5 separate regions of the Homo sapiens genome follow, and regions 1, 3, 4 and 5 are each linked to region 2. The links are contacts of gene promoters, found by promoter capture Hi-C in human tissues and cell types (Jung and others, 2019). All regions are on one chromosome and are shown on one strand. Each heading gives the region's core, a stretch centred on a gene start or on the middle of the fragment in contact. The rest is flanking DNA. Distances are from core to core; before and after follow the strand shown.

The links. The method cuts DNA at HindIII sites, captures the fragments that hold promoters and counts their contacts. A contact is called where the count stands out against the background at its distance.
Region 1: the fragment with the promoter of FGR here is called in contact with the fragment with the promoter of TMEM222 in region 2 in 6 of the 25 tissues and cell types used here (IMR-90 fibroblasts, liver, lymphoblastoid cells and 3 more).
Region 3: a fragment that was not itself captured here is called in contact with the fragment with the promoter of TMEM222 in region 2 in 3 of the 25 tissues and cell types used here (dorsolateral prefrontal cortex, mesendoderm cells and pancreas).
Region 4: a contact is called between the fragment with the promoter of FAM76A here and the fragment with the promoter of TMEM222 in region 2, in 1 of the 25 tissues and cell types used here (IMR-90 fibroblasts).
Region 5: a contact is called between the fragment with the promoter of NR0B2 here and the fragment with the promoter of TMEM222 in region 2, in 1 of the 25 tissues and cell types used here (aorta).

Annotation. Positions count from the first base shown.
Region 1 is chr1:27,633,755-27,636,466 of GRCh38, forward strand. It overlaps FGR (FGR proto-oncogene, Src family tyrosine kinase), which reads right to left and starts at 1,431. Exons shown (of 13, transcript NM_005248.3): 1 at 1,311-1,431. RefSeq lists a silencer at 507-556. The HindIII fragment of the contact is 29,896 bases long and covers 1-2,712 here.
Region 2 is chr1:27,320,633-27,323,507 of GRCh38, forward strand. It overlaps TMEM222 (transmembrane protein 222), which reads left to right and starts at 1,531. Exons shown (of 6, transcript NM_032125.3): 1 at 1,531-1,759. The coding sequence starts at 1,566. RefSeq lists enhancers at 945-1,491, 1,492-2,039, 1,539-1,888, 2,040-2,586. The HindIII fragment of the contact is 11,672 bases long and covers 1-2,875 here.
Region 3 is chr1:27,760,630-27,763,329 of GRCh38, forward strand. FAM76A (family with sequence similarity 76 member A) reads left to right here. Exons shown (of 9, transcript NM_152660.3): 9 at 1-2,487. Among named protein-coding and RNA genes, the nearest start is that of STX12, 11 kb to the right of the region's middle. The HindIII fragment of the contact is 6,157 bases long and covers 1-2,700 here.
Region 4 is chr1:27,724,560-27,727,367 of GRCh38, forward strand. FAM76A (family with sequence similarity 76 member A) reads left to right here and starts at 1,402. Exons shown (of 9, transcript NM_152660.3): 1 at 1,402-1,602. The coding sequence starts at 1,522. RefSeq lists silencers at 746-1,388, 1,227-1,926. The HindIII fragment of the contact is 12,090 bases long and covers 1-2,808 here.
Region 5 is chr1:26,912,488-26,915,385 of GRCh38, forward strand. It overlaps NR0B2 (nuclear receptor subfamily 0 group B member 2), which reads right to left and starts at 1,488. Exons shown (of 2, transcript NM_021969.3): 1 at 922-1,488. The coding sequence starts at 1,453. It also overlaps a transcript of NUDC not described here. The HindIII fragment of the contact is 33,061 bases long and covers 1-2,898 here.

The DNA.
Region 1 (2,712 bases), core at 181-2,680, 310 kb after region 2:
TCCCTGTGCTGCCCAGGCTGGCCTCCTCTGCATGTTTTTGAGAAGGTGAAGGGGAGGCTCGCTGAGTCAGGGATAGCCCTTAACCCTTCAGGACACTCAGCAAAAACTGCTTTCTGCACCTGATTCTCGTGGGGGAAGAGTGGACACAAGGATCATTTCTCACCATAGTTCAGATGAGGAAAGTGAGGCCCAGAGAAGCCCTGTAACTTGCCCACAGTCACACAGCAATTAAGGGCCCAGTCTTGCTAAGAACCCAGGTCTCTCAAACAGCAGATCCTCCACCCCAGGATCCCTGAACACAGCGGCATCGCCTCCTACCTCGGTCGGGAAGCCCACCCCCCACCCACCAGACCGAGGATTCCAAAAGGGGGCGAAGGCGGAGAGCAAAGGGGGCTGCGCCCACCCGGAGCCCCGCGGCGGCCCAGCGCGGCCCGCCCTCTCGTTGCCTTGGAGGCAGCCCCTGCGGGCACTCGCGGTCAAAGGCAGGATTTCCGTCGGGGCGGCAGCAATTCCCGGATCCAGCGGGGAGCGCGGGCCGAGACCGCCGCGGGCGCGGAGGGGGCGCCCGGAGAGGCCTGTCCCTGCCGAGGGCGGGGACTTCCCCAGGAAGCGGGGACCCACGCCTCGCGCGCCCGGCAGGAGTCCCCTGCAGCCCGGAACCTACCGCAAGGGCGGGCCGAGAGGGTCGCGGGGCCGCGGTCGCGGCCGCTAACGTTACCCTGCGGGCTGTGGGCTTCACCCCGACTTCGGCCGGCTCGGAAGAGGGGAACTTCCTGGACCCGCAATTGCACCCCAGGTTCTCCGTCCTCCAGAAGTCGTTCTCCTCAACCCCCTTCCCGCCAGCTCCCTCTCCTGTTCCCTCCAGCACCCCCACCCATTTCCCCTCTCCTGGACCCATCAGACCCGTCGGCTTCTCCCCAAAGTCCCACTCTCACGATCCCTTCAGTTTCTCCCCCAGACCGTCCTGGGGATTCCCCTTAATCCTTCTCCCCCACCTCAGCCCCCTTCCTAAACTCTTATCAGTCCCCTCCATTTTACCCACTAGACCTTTTTGGGGGTCCCTTTGGTCGGCTTCCCCCGTGCTCCCCTCCGCCCTCTCCTCCAGGTTTATCAGCCTTGCTTTTCAGGTCGCCCGTTTTCCTCCTTAGGCCTTTTCGGGCTGGGGTCCCTTTGGCTGTCACCTTGCTCATGTGTCCCCCGACCCCCAGGTTCAGGCTTCTCTTCCCGTGTACCCCCAGTCCTCTCTCCAGAGCCTCGAGGGGGAGGGCACTGCTTGACCTGCCCAGTCCCCACCCGACGCTGTCGCTTACCTGGAGCCCAATTCTGCCCGGCCCCGGGGTGAGCCAGCCGGGGCTCCAGCAGCCGCGAGTGCCGGCGTGCGGGGAGAACTGGGGTGCTGCCCGCCTCTGACCGCCGCCCCTGCTGGGCAGGGAGGAGGAAGCCGCCTCGGACTTCTCTTATTGCAGTCACGGCCGGCGGGCGGTGATGGTGGCAGGGAGACAGTCACGCCCTAGCCCCAAGCCAGCTCCCCGCAGCGAGGAGGCGCCCCCAGATCCTAGGCCCACCCGCCCCCACCTTCCTCCTCCCTGGTTTACGGGAGGTCGGCTCTGTCACCCTCCAGACCTGAGTCCCCAGCCCGGCCTTCCCAAAAGCCCCCTCCAAAAGCGCAGTTTCAGCACCCCCGAAGCACCTGCTCTTTTAGGATCATTGAATTGGAGGTTAAGAGGGGCTTTTCTCCATCACTGAGGACCAGATCGGGACTGGCCTTACTCGAGTTCTCACAGCCAGTTGACTTCAGACTGCTGTCACCAGAGCCACTGGACATGGATCACATGGACCCTGTCAGCACGCCTTCCCTTCCTCAGGGGCTGAGCACTGGGGACACAGGGCTGTTAAGGGTGGTGAGCAGCAGAAGACCCTTCCCTTAGGAAACTGCCTTTCAGAGGAGTGGGAAGGGTGTCAGCCTCCCCCAGGCACCCAAGTTTTAGAAAAACTGAGTAACTGGCTGGGGGCAGTGGCTCAGCCTGTAATCCCAGCACTTTGGGAGGTTGGGTGGGAGGATTGCTTGAGCCCAGGAATTCCAGACCAGCCTAGGCAGCATAGGGAGACACCATCTCTACCAAAAAAAATTTTTCTTAAGTTAGCTCGGTGTGGTGGTGTGCACCTGTGGTCCCAGCTACTGCAGAGGCAGAGGTGGAAGGATCCCTCGAGTCAGGCAGGTCGAGGCTGCAGTGAGCTGTGATTGAGCTACTGCACTCTACCTTGGGTGACAGAGCAAGACCCTGCCTTAAAAAAAAAAAACACAAAAAAAGAATGTGGGTTTTGTTGCAGAAAATGACTTTTTTTAAAAAAAAGAAAGAAAAGGCCGGGTGCAGCGGCTCACGCCTGTAATCCCAGCACTTTGGGAGGCCGAGGCGGGTGGATCACGATGTTAGGAGATCAAGACCGTCCTGGCTAACACAGTGAAAGCCCATCTCTACTAAAAATCAAAAAATTAGCCGGGCGTGGTGGCGGGCGCCTGTAGTCTCAGCTACTCAGGAGGCTGAGGCAGGAGAATGGTGTGAACCCGGGAGGCGGAGCTTGCAGTGAGCCGAGATGGCGCCACTGCACTCCAGCCTGGGCGACAGAGCGAGACTCCGTCTCAAGAAAAAAAAAAAAAAAAAAAAAAAGGAAGAAAAACTGAGTATCTTAGAACATGTGGAAAAAGATTTT
Region 2 (2,875 bases), core at 281-2,780:
ATCAGTAAACATCTAGTGGGCATATGCTTTGCACCAGGAACTGTGCCAGCTACTGAAGTCAAGGACCTTAGAGTTCTATAGCAGAGACAGACATCCCCCACAAAAAAACATGAAAATATTAGGTGCTACAAACAGGACAGCAAGCTCTCCATAGATCAGCATTGAGGGAGGGTAATTCAGTGGAAGAAGGACCTTCCCCAAATGGGAAGCTCCTAACTTCCTGAGTGCATTTGTCCATACCTTCCTTTACCTGATTACTCTTTTTATTCTTTTTTTTTTTTCTTTAAGGCTGATTTTTAGTGGCAGCCTTCCTTCTGACTTTGGGCTGTCCCCAACTTCCCCTCCCCACCCCAGTAGACCCCAGTAGACTTCATTTTCTTTGTCTTGACATCCTTTAAAAAGCCAAAAGTCTCCAACATTTGAGCCTGGCTTCTCTCTAATTATGGTTGTGTGTGATCTCAAACAATTAACTTCCCTGAGCCCGTTTTCCCATTTGTACAATGAAGGGATTGGATCACATCTAAGGCTTATGATTTACTCCAGTAAGTATTCACACTCTTGCACACACTGCTCTGCACGGCCTTCCTTTCTTTGTACCGCTGCACTCATACTTCCACTCCTGTGCCACATGGCAAACATCAAGACTCAACTCAATAATATCCTATCTTCCAGCAAGTCTTCCCTGTATATACAATAAAACACACACACACACACACGTGCGCACACACAACTGTGTGTGTCTTCCTTTATGCTACCACTACCTCGTGAGAGGGCCACAGAATGAAAAGGGCAAGGGAGGTATAAGACTTGGGTTTGGGCCAGGCGCGGTGGCTCACGCCTGTAATCCCAGCACTTTGGGAGGCCAAGGCGGGCGGATCACAGGGTCAGGAGTTTGAGACCATCCTGGCTAACATGGTGAAACGCCACCTCTACTAAAAATACAAAAATTAGCCGGGCGTGGTGGCACGCGCCTGTTATCCCAGCTACTCGGGAGGCCGAGGCAGGATCGCCTGAACCTGGGAGGTGGAGGTTGCAGTGAGCCGAGATTGTGCCATTGCCCTCCAGCCTGGGCAACAAGAGAAAAAATTCCGCCTCAGAAAAAAAAAAAAAAAAAAAGACTTGGGTTTGCATCGTGGTCTCTCACCTTTTGAACCTCAGTTTCTCACCTGTAACAGGAGGGAATACCTAATTTGGATGTCTAATTAGTTTATGGGGATTAGAAACAATTCATGTCAAGTGCTTGGCACCTAAGAAGTGCTCAATAAATAGCGACTGTACCACACCTCCTAGGAGCCCTCAGCGTACTGAATTAGAGTTCTCTATAAGTCTCCGGCGCTAGACTGCGAACTGCCTGAGAGCATCCCTTCTGCAGCCGCGGGGCATAAGCGGCAAAGACTCGGGGCTGGCAGGCGCATAGGGAGTGGGGCGGGGCTGGCCGGGCCCAGAGGAACGCGGCTCGGATTCCCGGGGGAAGGCCAAGCGGGGCGGACCCCATCTCCGGGAAGTGACGCCATGGGGACGAGCGGCACCAGAGCCGGGGCCAGTCGGAGCGGGGCGCGCGCCGCATGGCGGAAGCGGAAGGGAGTTCTCTGCTCTTGTTGCCGCCGCCGCCACCCCCGCCCAGGATGGCGGAAGTGGAGGCGCCGACGGCGGCCGAGACGGACATGAAGCAATATCAAGGCTCCGGCGGCGTCGCCATGGATGTGGAACGGAGTCGCTTCCCCTACTGCGTGGTGTGGACGCCCATCCCGGTGCTCACGTGAGTCTCTTCCGGCATCCGCCTGGGGACGAGGAGGGCCCAGGGAGAGCCGGAGTCGGGCCGGGCTAGCCTCCGGCCCCAACGCGCAGCAAGCCTTTTCCTCGGGTCTGGCCCGCACGCCTCGCCCAGTCACCAGAACCCCGCCATCCATGTAGTGCCAGTTTGTGCACACGGCTGGGACACGCTCCCTGCTCTCAATACACCTGGTGTAGCCAGGGAGAGAGTTGTAGGCCAGCAGGAAAGGGCAAGTGGCTGGGAGACTCGAGCTGTGAGTGTGTAGAAGAGGGAGCCCCTTATCGGATCTGAGGAGACATTTTTATTAATTCACTGGTTTATTCTCTCATTGAGCAAATGCTTACTGGTCGCTTACCATATTCCAGACATACTGCTGGGTCTGGGAGCAAGAGTGGGAGTTTGGTTGGGACCACACGAGATCCTGGGATGTCAACATTGGAAGGGCCCCCAGAGATCTGAGAGTCCAACCCTTTGTCTCACGTGCCATCTCAGTTGCAAACTGGGTTTAGATCCCAGGTTGTCTGCCTCCCAGACCAAAGTTCTTTCTGTAACATCAGCCTTTGTCAGGGGAGAAGCAGGTGCTCTGGTACTACTTGGCGCCTTTTGGGAGGAGCTCTCATATGGGGAGAGGTGGTTTGCCCTCCTGCTTCAACCTTGACAGCTGATAAACGTAACCCCTCCTCACCGTGCTGGATAGTTTGCCAAGCTCTTAAACACCCATTTTATCAGAATTAAACATCCATTTTCTAAGGTAGGTTATCTTCTCAGATGGTGAAGCTGAGCTGCTTGTAGCATTAAGTGTCTTGATCAGGTTCGCACCCCAATAAGCAAAGGCATGAAGAGCTCAGTCTTCTGATCTAACTTGCTCTTTGCACTACATCTTATCCACTCTCACCTGATGGGATAGCTTGTTCCGCTATCAATAACAGCCAGTGGTGATGTGGAGAAGGGATCATTTGGGGCCTTAGGTGTTGCTGATTCTAAAAAGATCGTAGTTTTTGAATTATGTTAAAATACTTGAATTATTTTGTGTTTTCAAGTACTTATGCATATAAGAGCATCCAAATCTGTTCTTTAAAAATAAAATATTGGGACAGGCGC
Region 3 (2,700 bases), core at 68-2,567, 440 kb after region 2:
TTAGGGTTGGAGACCTGGCTGTTCTGTGGGAATTGCAAGCTTTCTTAAGAAATCTCTATTTTATTACAGTTATCCTTCTTTGTGCGATTGCAGTGGGCTGAATGGAAACACCTGGTTTGTGCTGTGTTAGACTGCATGCTTGAGTGTTTGGGATTTCAAGCTCGCTCTCTTTCTCTCACTATTAGGACTTTTCTTTTTCTTCTTCCTCTTCTCTCTATTTTGGTTCTATTCTTTTTTTTTCTTTTTTCTTTTTTTTTTTTTTTTTTTTTTTGTGGTGGTCACTGCTCAGTGTAATGTGCAGAATGATTTGTTTTTTGTTTTTTTTTTTTTTTTTGGTCCTTCATTGCATCCTGCCATACCCATGAGCAAACAGTTTGGCATTAATTATATATCACTGCCACCCTCTGAACTTTGAAAACTGCCATCTTCAGACTTGGTATAATGGAAGAGGCTTTCTCTCTCCAATAAACCTTTTGCTTCAGGGTATACTCTTCGGTTTTTTTCCAGATGTATTATGTATGAACTTTGTACTATGTATAGCCAGAGTTTTATTTATTTTTTAAAAAAGAAACTTTTTCTTGATAAAGGAATAATGGTGGTCTAGCTAGTTCTTGTAAAAGTGATGCCTCTTGAAAAAAAAACAGTCCTATTCACTAGCTTTTAGTAAAAGAATCAGATCTTTTCTTTCTTGTTACCTTGGAGTCTTAAAAACTGATTGCTAAGGTGAAACAATTCAATGCATAAGTATGGAGCTAAGTGCCTTTTGGAGGATTTCTTGGAAGAGCATTTATGGAGATACTTAAGGGAGGTAGCAAAGATTTGAACCGTCTGTCTTTTTAAGTAAGGGCAGAAAGCAAGGTTGTCCAGGTTGTACTGGACACTTCTCTCCCCACCCCTTTCCTGATTGTTTTATGTGATTGATTTTAAATTCTCACACTGCCACTTCTTTAAAAAATAAAATCCTTTATTTGCTTATATCAGTTGTCATACTGGGCTGCTGTCAGAGAATGTTTTTTTACATGAATGAACAGATTAAAAATGGAATAATATGGTCGGGTGCGGTGGCTCACGCCTGTAATACCAGCAATTTGGGAGGCCAAGGCGGGTGGATCATTTGAGGTTAGGAGTTTGAGACCATCCTGGCCAACATGGTAAAACCCCATCTGTACTAAAAAAATACAAAAATTAGCCGGGCCTGGTGGCATGCACCTGTAATCCCAGCTACCCAGGAGGCTGAGGCAGGAGAACTGCTCGAATCCCGGGAGGCAGAGGTTGCAATGAGCTGAAATCGCAACACTGCACTGCAGCCTGGGCAATGGAGTGAGACTCCGTCTCAAAAAAAAAAAAAAAAGGAATAATATTTGAACTACAGAGCATTTTTGGGGTCAGCATGAGCTGCTCTAGTAAGGACTCTTGAGTCTGGGAAAAGTGGTATCACTATACCTTCTCCCCACTCCTCACCCACCCGAGCCCATACACTCCCTGCTTTTCATGGATATGTATTGAAAACAGGTGCTTCTCAGAAGCACTTTGCCTCAACCAGAGTTATGTATGCCCTGCCTATCTTCCCTTCTTAACCCTGTAGGAATATGGATTTACTTTTCCAGGAAAGGGGATAGATTTACATTTCTAGGCATACTCTCAGGTCCTCTATGTGATGTTTGTGAAAGGAATTAGGGTGTGTCATGTGTGCCATGAAACAACAAAACCAACTACCCTAGAATCATTTATGCAGGGGGTACTAGAGTTAGAAATAATAATGAGGGCAGATAACATTTGTACCTCAGTCTACCAAAAAATTATAGTACTAAATTTAACTTCTAGGCGTTTCCTGGAAGCAGATGCTCTATAATTTGTGATAGCATTCTCATAAATGGAGTCCTACACATAATTGGACAGAGATGTGGAAATGGTGGTTTCCTTCTGATAAGGGATACAGTGGACCATGTCGCTTATATATCACCCTACTAGGGGATATAATTTTCCCTTCTAAGCAAGGGAAATGGCAGTGCTAAATAGTTTTGTAAAGTTTTTGAATGAGAAGCTTTTAGGTAAAGATAAACTGTCATAATATTTTTCAGATGCATTTGCATTGACTATGGGAGAAAAATTAGGGGGAAATGACAGTCATGGTGTTTTTTTTTAATTTTAAGGACTGAAATTCTGTTACATGATGTATGACAATATAAAAACATACTTAGTTTTATACTAAATCTTTTTTTAAGGTCTTGGCATTTAATATAAAGCAAATTCACACGTTTTCTAACTTTCCATAAGTTCCAAAAAGGGAAAGAAGAAACCTCAGTCTTGAAATTTTGATTTTTAAAAATCATGACACTGTTTTACCATGAAATTGAGTAGCTAACTTTTGGTAACACCTTTTGTTTCTTTGTATGTTTGTAATAATGGACATTTTAAAACACAGGAATGTTTTGGTTTGTACAGACTTTGACAAATGTGTGTTAATAAAAATTCATATTGACTCAAGTGTAATTGTTGGATTTTGTTTTTATTTCTTGCTGTTTACCAGTAGACATACCCCGTTATCCCCTTCAGCCCTTCAGCCTAGAAAAGTTTGTCTTGCTTATAGACTTAAAAAATTAAAAGCCTAACTGCTAATTGGGAATTTCCTGTCCATTAGAGAATAAACTCTTTCTTTCTCTCTTCTATGACTGTTTTGAGACAGAGTCTCACTCAGTC
Region 4 (2,808 bases), core at 152-2,651, 400 kb after region 2:
ATCCCAAGGCTCAAGTGATCCTCTGGCCTCAGCCTCCCAAAGTGCTGGGATTACAGTTGTGAGCCATCCCGCCCCGACTCATGTACTGGTTTTGATTCTCACAATGACCTCATTGTACAATTGAGAAAAACGAGGCCGTGAGAAGTTCAGTGATAGATCCAAGGTCATGTAGTTAGTTGTGGAACAGTGATTTGGAAACTTTGCTTTCTGATCCTAATGATTAATGCACATCTTTGGGGGATCCTACAAGGAAGCAGCCAGATTTGGGTTCAGAGAGAGTAAATTTTTTTTGTTGAGGCAGGGAAATAGAAGCCATTAAGTCAGTTTTTAATTGTAAAAAGCGCACGTTGAGGTAAAACTGCAATTAGTCCTGTACGGGTGGTTGGCAGAGCCAAGAGTAACCTATGCCCAAGAGCAGCTACAAGGCAGGACTTGGATAGGTCAGCAGTGCAGGAAGCTTTGCCAACACCTCAAGAACAAGAAGTCTGTCATTCCTTGGGCAGCTCCTATACATGCCAAGCTGGAGCCAAAGAGAGGCAGGGGAGCCCGGAGGGCGTGGCTTGCCTTCCGGAAGTCAGGCCTCGTCAGGAATCACCAGGTGGTTGCTTGCGAGAGAAGCTGGGGGTGAAACCGGAGAAAACAAAGTAGGAAGCAGGTCTGGGCCAATTGCAGCCCACTCTGATGGGGGCCTGCAGGCCACCGGACGCCTGAATATCTGTCCAATCCCTCCTGGAAGGACTGCCATCTCTTTAGTCCCTCTTCCGCAGCATAGGGGTGCTCTCTCTGGGGCTCTCCTTTTCTCTCCTAAGGCCCACAGCCCCACAGTTCCCTATTTAGGTGTCTTAAATTGAGGACACACTTCTAAATTGTCCCTCAGAGTCTCGTCTCCTCCTTTGAGCGAGGCTGGGCGGGCTCCTCCTGCTCCGATTATGAGGAACTTCTTTCCCAAGCTCCCCACCTTCTTTGGGCTTGGACGGCTGCAGAGTTCCAGTTAACTGTGCGCCGCCTTCGTTCCAATTGTACCCCTCGTGCTCCCAGAGGGCAGCTCCATGGAAACCAAAACATCACAAATCCCCGAAGGTATCGCGAGAAGCGCAGATGCGCCTGAGGCCGTGGAGAGGCGGAGCGAGGGCGGGAACGCTGAGCAAGTAGGGCGGAGCCTAAGCTCTTCCGAGGTCCCGGCCGGGAGCCTGTCCCCTCCAGGTGGCGCCCCCGCGTGACTGCGCTTTACATAATCGCGGCCTGGAGCGTCACAGTGGCGTACTCCAGGCCAGACCGAATCAGAGTGGGCGAAAGCTCCGTGTTCCGCCCCTTCCCACTTGATCGACGTCAAAGCCCACCAGTGAGCGGGCGTCTAGAGTCGCCGTGCCCGCCCCAGCCCGCCCGGGTCCGCCCCGACCCGCCTGCGCCCGCCCGCCTGCCGCAGCCAGCAGCCTGCAGCCGCCGCCGGGTTGTGCCTCAGACTGTCAGATAAATCGGCGGGCCGGGCCGGCGGGTCGGTGAGCGCGGCCCGGGCCGGACATGGCGGCGCTCTACGCCTGCACCAAGTGCCACCAGCGCTTCCCCTTCGAGGCGCTGTCTCAGGGGCAGCAGCTGTGCAAGGTGCGCGGGCTGGGGCGGCGGCCGGGAACTGGGGACGCAGGAGGCGCGGCCCGGAGCTCCAGATTCTGTGGGGACGCCCGGCGGGGTCCCCGGAGCAGGGTGTGGCAGGCCCGCCAGGCTGAGGAGCCGCACCCACCCCGCTGGGGGCCGGCGGGGCACGTGCGGGAGCCGGGACCCGGTCCAGGCTCCCGCGGCCGGCGTGTCCGGGTGCTTAGCAACCGTGGGGATTGTTCTCGGACCCCGTGAGGTCGGGGGAGGGACAGCGGGTCCCCTGCTTGCCCTGACTGGTCGCCTTCGGGATCCCTTTGCGCTGCCTCCCCCGCCGCCGCGGTCTCCCTGGTGGGGACCTCCTGCCCCTCCTGGGACTGAACTCCAAAGTTGGGTGCTGCCTTGGAGGAATGTGTCGAACTCGGGCTCCTCACGGGCACTTTTCGACCAGTTTCAGAATCGGAGGTAGCAAGGCTTGATTTTTTTTTTTTTTTTAAGCATCTCACTTTTCGGCCAGTCTCAGAATCGGAGGCAGCAAGGCTTTATGTTTTAAAAAAGCCCCACAGTCAGGCTCACAGATCCGAGGGATCACTTCTCAGCATCCAGTTGGTGGTCTTCGGTCTTCCCTGACTAGCTGCTGATCAGTTTTTGCTCCTGAAGGTCCAACTTCTCTTTTTCTTTTAAGTTGCTTTATCCCACTTTTACTTTTTAAGTGACTAGAGGTGCTGTGAGGCAACAGTTAAAAAGTCACCAAACTGGCTGAAGAATAATGTTGAGGTTATCCAATAATCCAGTTTGTGTCTCTGATTTGGATAACTCATAATTGTCACTTTTGCCTCAGATGGTCATGACTTTCCATTTGCCAGTTTTTATATACCAGGTCTGGGGGAATGCAAGTGCTTGAGTGCCCTTTTTGGCCTCAAAATATGTATATATGATTTTAAGGAAGTTATGTATATATAAATAATAATTTTAATCCAGCACTTTCATTTCACAAGTAAACCGCAAAATCACACAGTGGCAGAAGAACCAGGCCTGGAATTCAGGGCTTCTGATTCCCAGTCTGGGACTTGTTCATATATATGTTTGTTTTACAATTTATGGCTAGTTCCATATAATCCATATAAGTTCTTACTTAACTCCCACATCAACAGTAGGGAAGTGATGCCAGTATTACAGAGGAGAAAAATAAGGCCCAGAAAGTTTAAGTGACTCACT
Region 5 (2,898 bases), core at 238-2,737, 410 kb before region 2:
TTAGAATAGGGCCTAACATATGGTAAGTGTGATATGAGTATTTGCTACTATTATTACAATTAATTACTACGATTTATGCGTGCCACAAGGGACTCCTGGGGAACTCTCATCTCAGATGCTCTCCAGATTACAAACAGCACTGTCTCCATCTGCCGCTCTCCTGGCCGAATTCCATAAAGACTCCTTTCCTGTCCTCCCTACGCCCCTTTCAGTCATCTCTTCTATGTGATCTTTCTGAACCCACAGAGGAGTTTTAGCTCTAGAGCTTCACCATGCAGCCTTCCTTTGAGGATGTGACTGAGACACAGCTGTGTCTGCCCACCCCACCTCCCCACAGCCTTCTGTAAAGGTCAGAGCAAATTTCTCAGGCAGAGTGGCAAGGGCCAGTCTCTGGAGTGAATAGACCTGAGTTGCCATCCTGGTCTGTCCCTACCTGGCTGTGTTACCTTTAGCTAGTCACTTAGCTTCTCTGTGCCTCTTCTGTGAGATGGCTATTTGATGAAAATGAGGACTGGCCAAGCACGGTGGCTCACGCCTGTAATCCCAGCACTTTGGGAGGCCAAGGTGGGTGGATCACCTGAGGGGTTAGGAGTTCAAGACCAGCTTGATCAACATGGTGAAAGCCCATCTCTACTAAAAAGTACAAAAATTAGCCGGGAGTGGTGGCGGCCATCTGTAATCCCAGCTACTCGGGAGGCTGAGGCAGAGAAAATTGCTTGAACCCAGGAGGCAGAGGTTGCAGTGAGCCAAGATCGCACCACTGCACTCCAGACTGGGTGACAGAGTGAGACTCTGTCTCAGAAAAATAAAAAGAAAATGAGGACCCAATGAGATAACAGATATCAAACCCTTAGAAGCTACCTTCCCTGGCTGGCCCCTGCTTCAGCCTTGCCCCCCACCCAGGAGTGTCTGGGAGCTCACCGGGGTTGAAGAGGATGGTCCCTTTCAGGCAGGCATATTCCTTGGGGCTAAGCTCCAGGCTCCAGAAGGACTCCAGACAGCATTGAAGCCACTGCACCGCAGCCAGGGAGGGCTGGGGTCTGTCTGGCAGTTGGCCACTGCCTCCACTGCTGCTGGGCTCCTCCAGCAGAATCTTCTTGAGTATGCTGGGCACCGGGGCCTCAGCCACCTCAAAGGTCACAGCATCTTGGGCCAACCCAAGCAGGAAGAGGGGGCCCCAGCAACCCTGCAGCAGCCGCCGCTGGTCCTGGGGAGGCAGCTGCCAGAAGGATGGCAGGTTCCTGAGGAAGGCCACTGTCTTGGCCAGAACATCCAAGGCCTCCCGGCAGGTGCGATGAGGTGCACATAGCTGGACGGGCCGGTGCTGCCTACATAGGCAGCGGCTACGGGGTCGGGGGACAGCCTTGAGGCTGGAGCTCAGAAGTGCGTAGAGAATGGCGGGGCGGCTTGCAGCTCCCTGGCATGGGCAGGCCCCTGGTTGGCTGGTGCTCATGGTTAGGGATCTGCTCTCACTTCCAGCTCTCTGGCTCTGTGTTCTGCGCTGTGGGTGCTATTTATATTCCCAGTGAGTGGAACGGGGGGAATGGCCCAACAACCTTGACTCCAGAAGTCATGTTCATTGAAAAAAACACACAGACATTGCCCCTGGCAGGAATGGTGGGGAAGTGGTGGGGGAGGGGGCATTGGGAACCCCACGTGGCACTGATATCACCTCAGTCAATGAAGTGGCCGGTGCAGGGCACAGGGCCACCTGCCGCTCACTCAGCTGCCCCTTATCAGATGACTCAAGTGGATAAACAAGGTCATTAACTCAGGCTGTACCAGGGCACCAAGGCCCCAGGTGCACAATCAGCAGGTGTCCCCATTGGTGCCCGCTCTTGTGTGCACAAAAGACTAGGGCTTTTGCTAAGCCAGGAAGCCAGCCCCAGAGCTGGGTGGGCCTTGAATGCAAGGCCCAACCTGGAAGTGCCTTATCACTAGCTTGTTTGCCTAACCTTGGGGCCCTGCTTCTGTTGTCAGCCAGAAGCAGGCTACAGGGAAGGGAGCCAGGACCCTGGGGGCTGGGAGGACTTTGCCCACTGTCCAATCTAGGAGGCCTCCTCCTCTGATTCCAGTTCTGGGCCCCCTGCAGGAATAAGGTCCTTCAGAATCCTTATCCCCAGCCTGATTCCTACCACTCCTGAAAGGCCAGGTCTGCTGAGAAGAACTCACAGAATTATAATAAAAGATAGTTGCCAGCCGGGCACGGTGGCTCATGCCTGTAATCCCAGCACTTTGGGAGGCTGAGGAAGGGGGATCATTTGAGGTCAGGAGTTCAAGACCAGCCTGGCCAACATGGCAAAATCCCGTCTCTACTAAAAATACAAAAATTAGCCGGGCATGGTGGCATGTGCCTGTAGTCCCAGCTACTCTAGAGGCTAAGGCAAAAGAATCACTCGAAACTGGGAGGCAGAGGTTACAGTGAGCTGAGATCATGCCACTGCTCTCCAGCCTGGGCAACAGAGCAAGATCCTGTCTCAAAAAAATATATATGTATATGTATATGTATATGTATATGTATATGTATATTTATATGTATATGTGTATATATATATACACATACATACATACATATATATATATATATATGTATATATATGGTTGCCATTCTCTAAGCACTTATTATGTGTCAGGCACTTCCCACTCTAATATTGGCAGCCTCTTCCTAAGGCTAGATTCTTACTTTATGAGACTAAAAAAGCTAAAGTGACTTGCCCAAGGTCATCCCACCAGGAAGACAAAGCCCAGATCTTGCCTGACTCCAAAGTCCTTGTTTGTTTCCCTGGACCCACTGGCCCAATTGCACAGCCAGAGCCTGAGATTCTCAGAGCTTGTGGCTAGCTGCCCCCACCTTGCTGCTGCCTGCTTTGCAGACGTTGCCCACTTGTGATCTGGGCA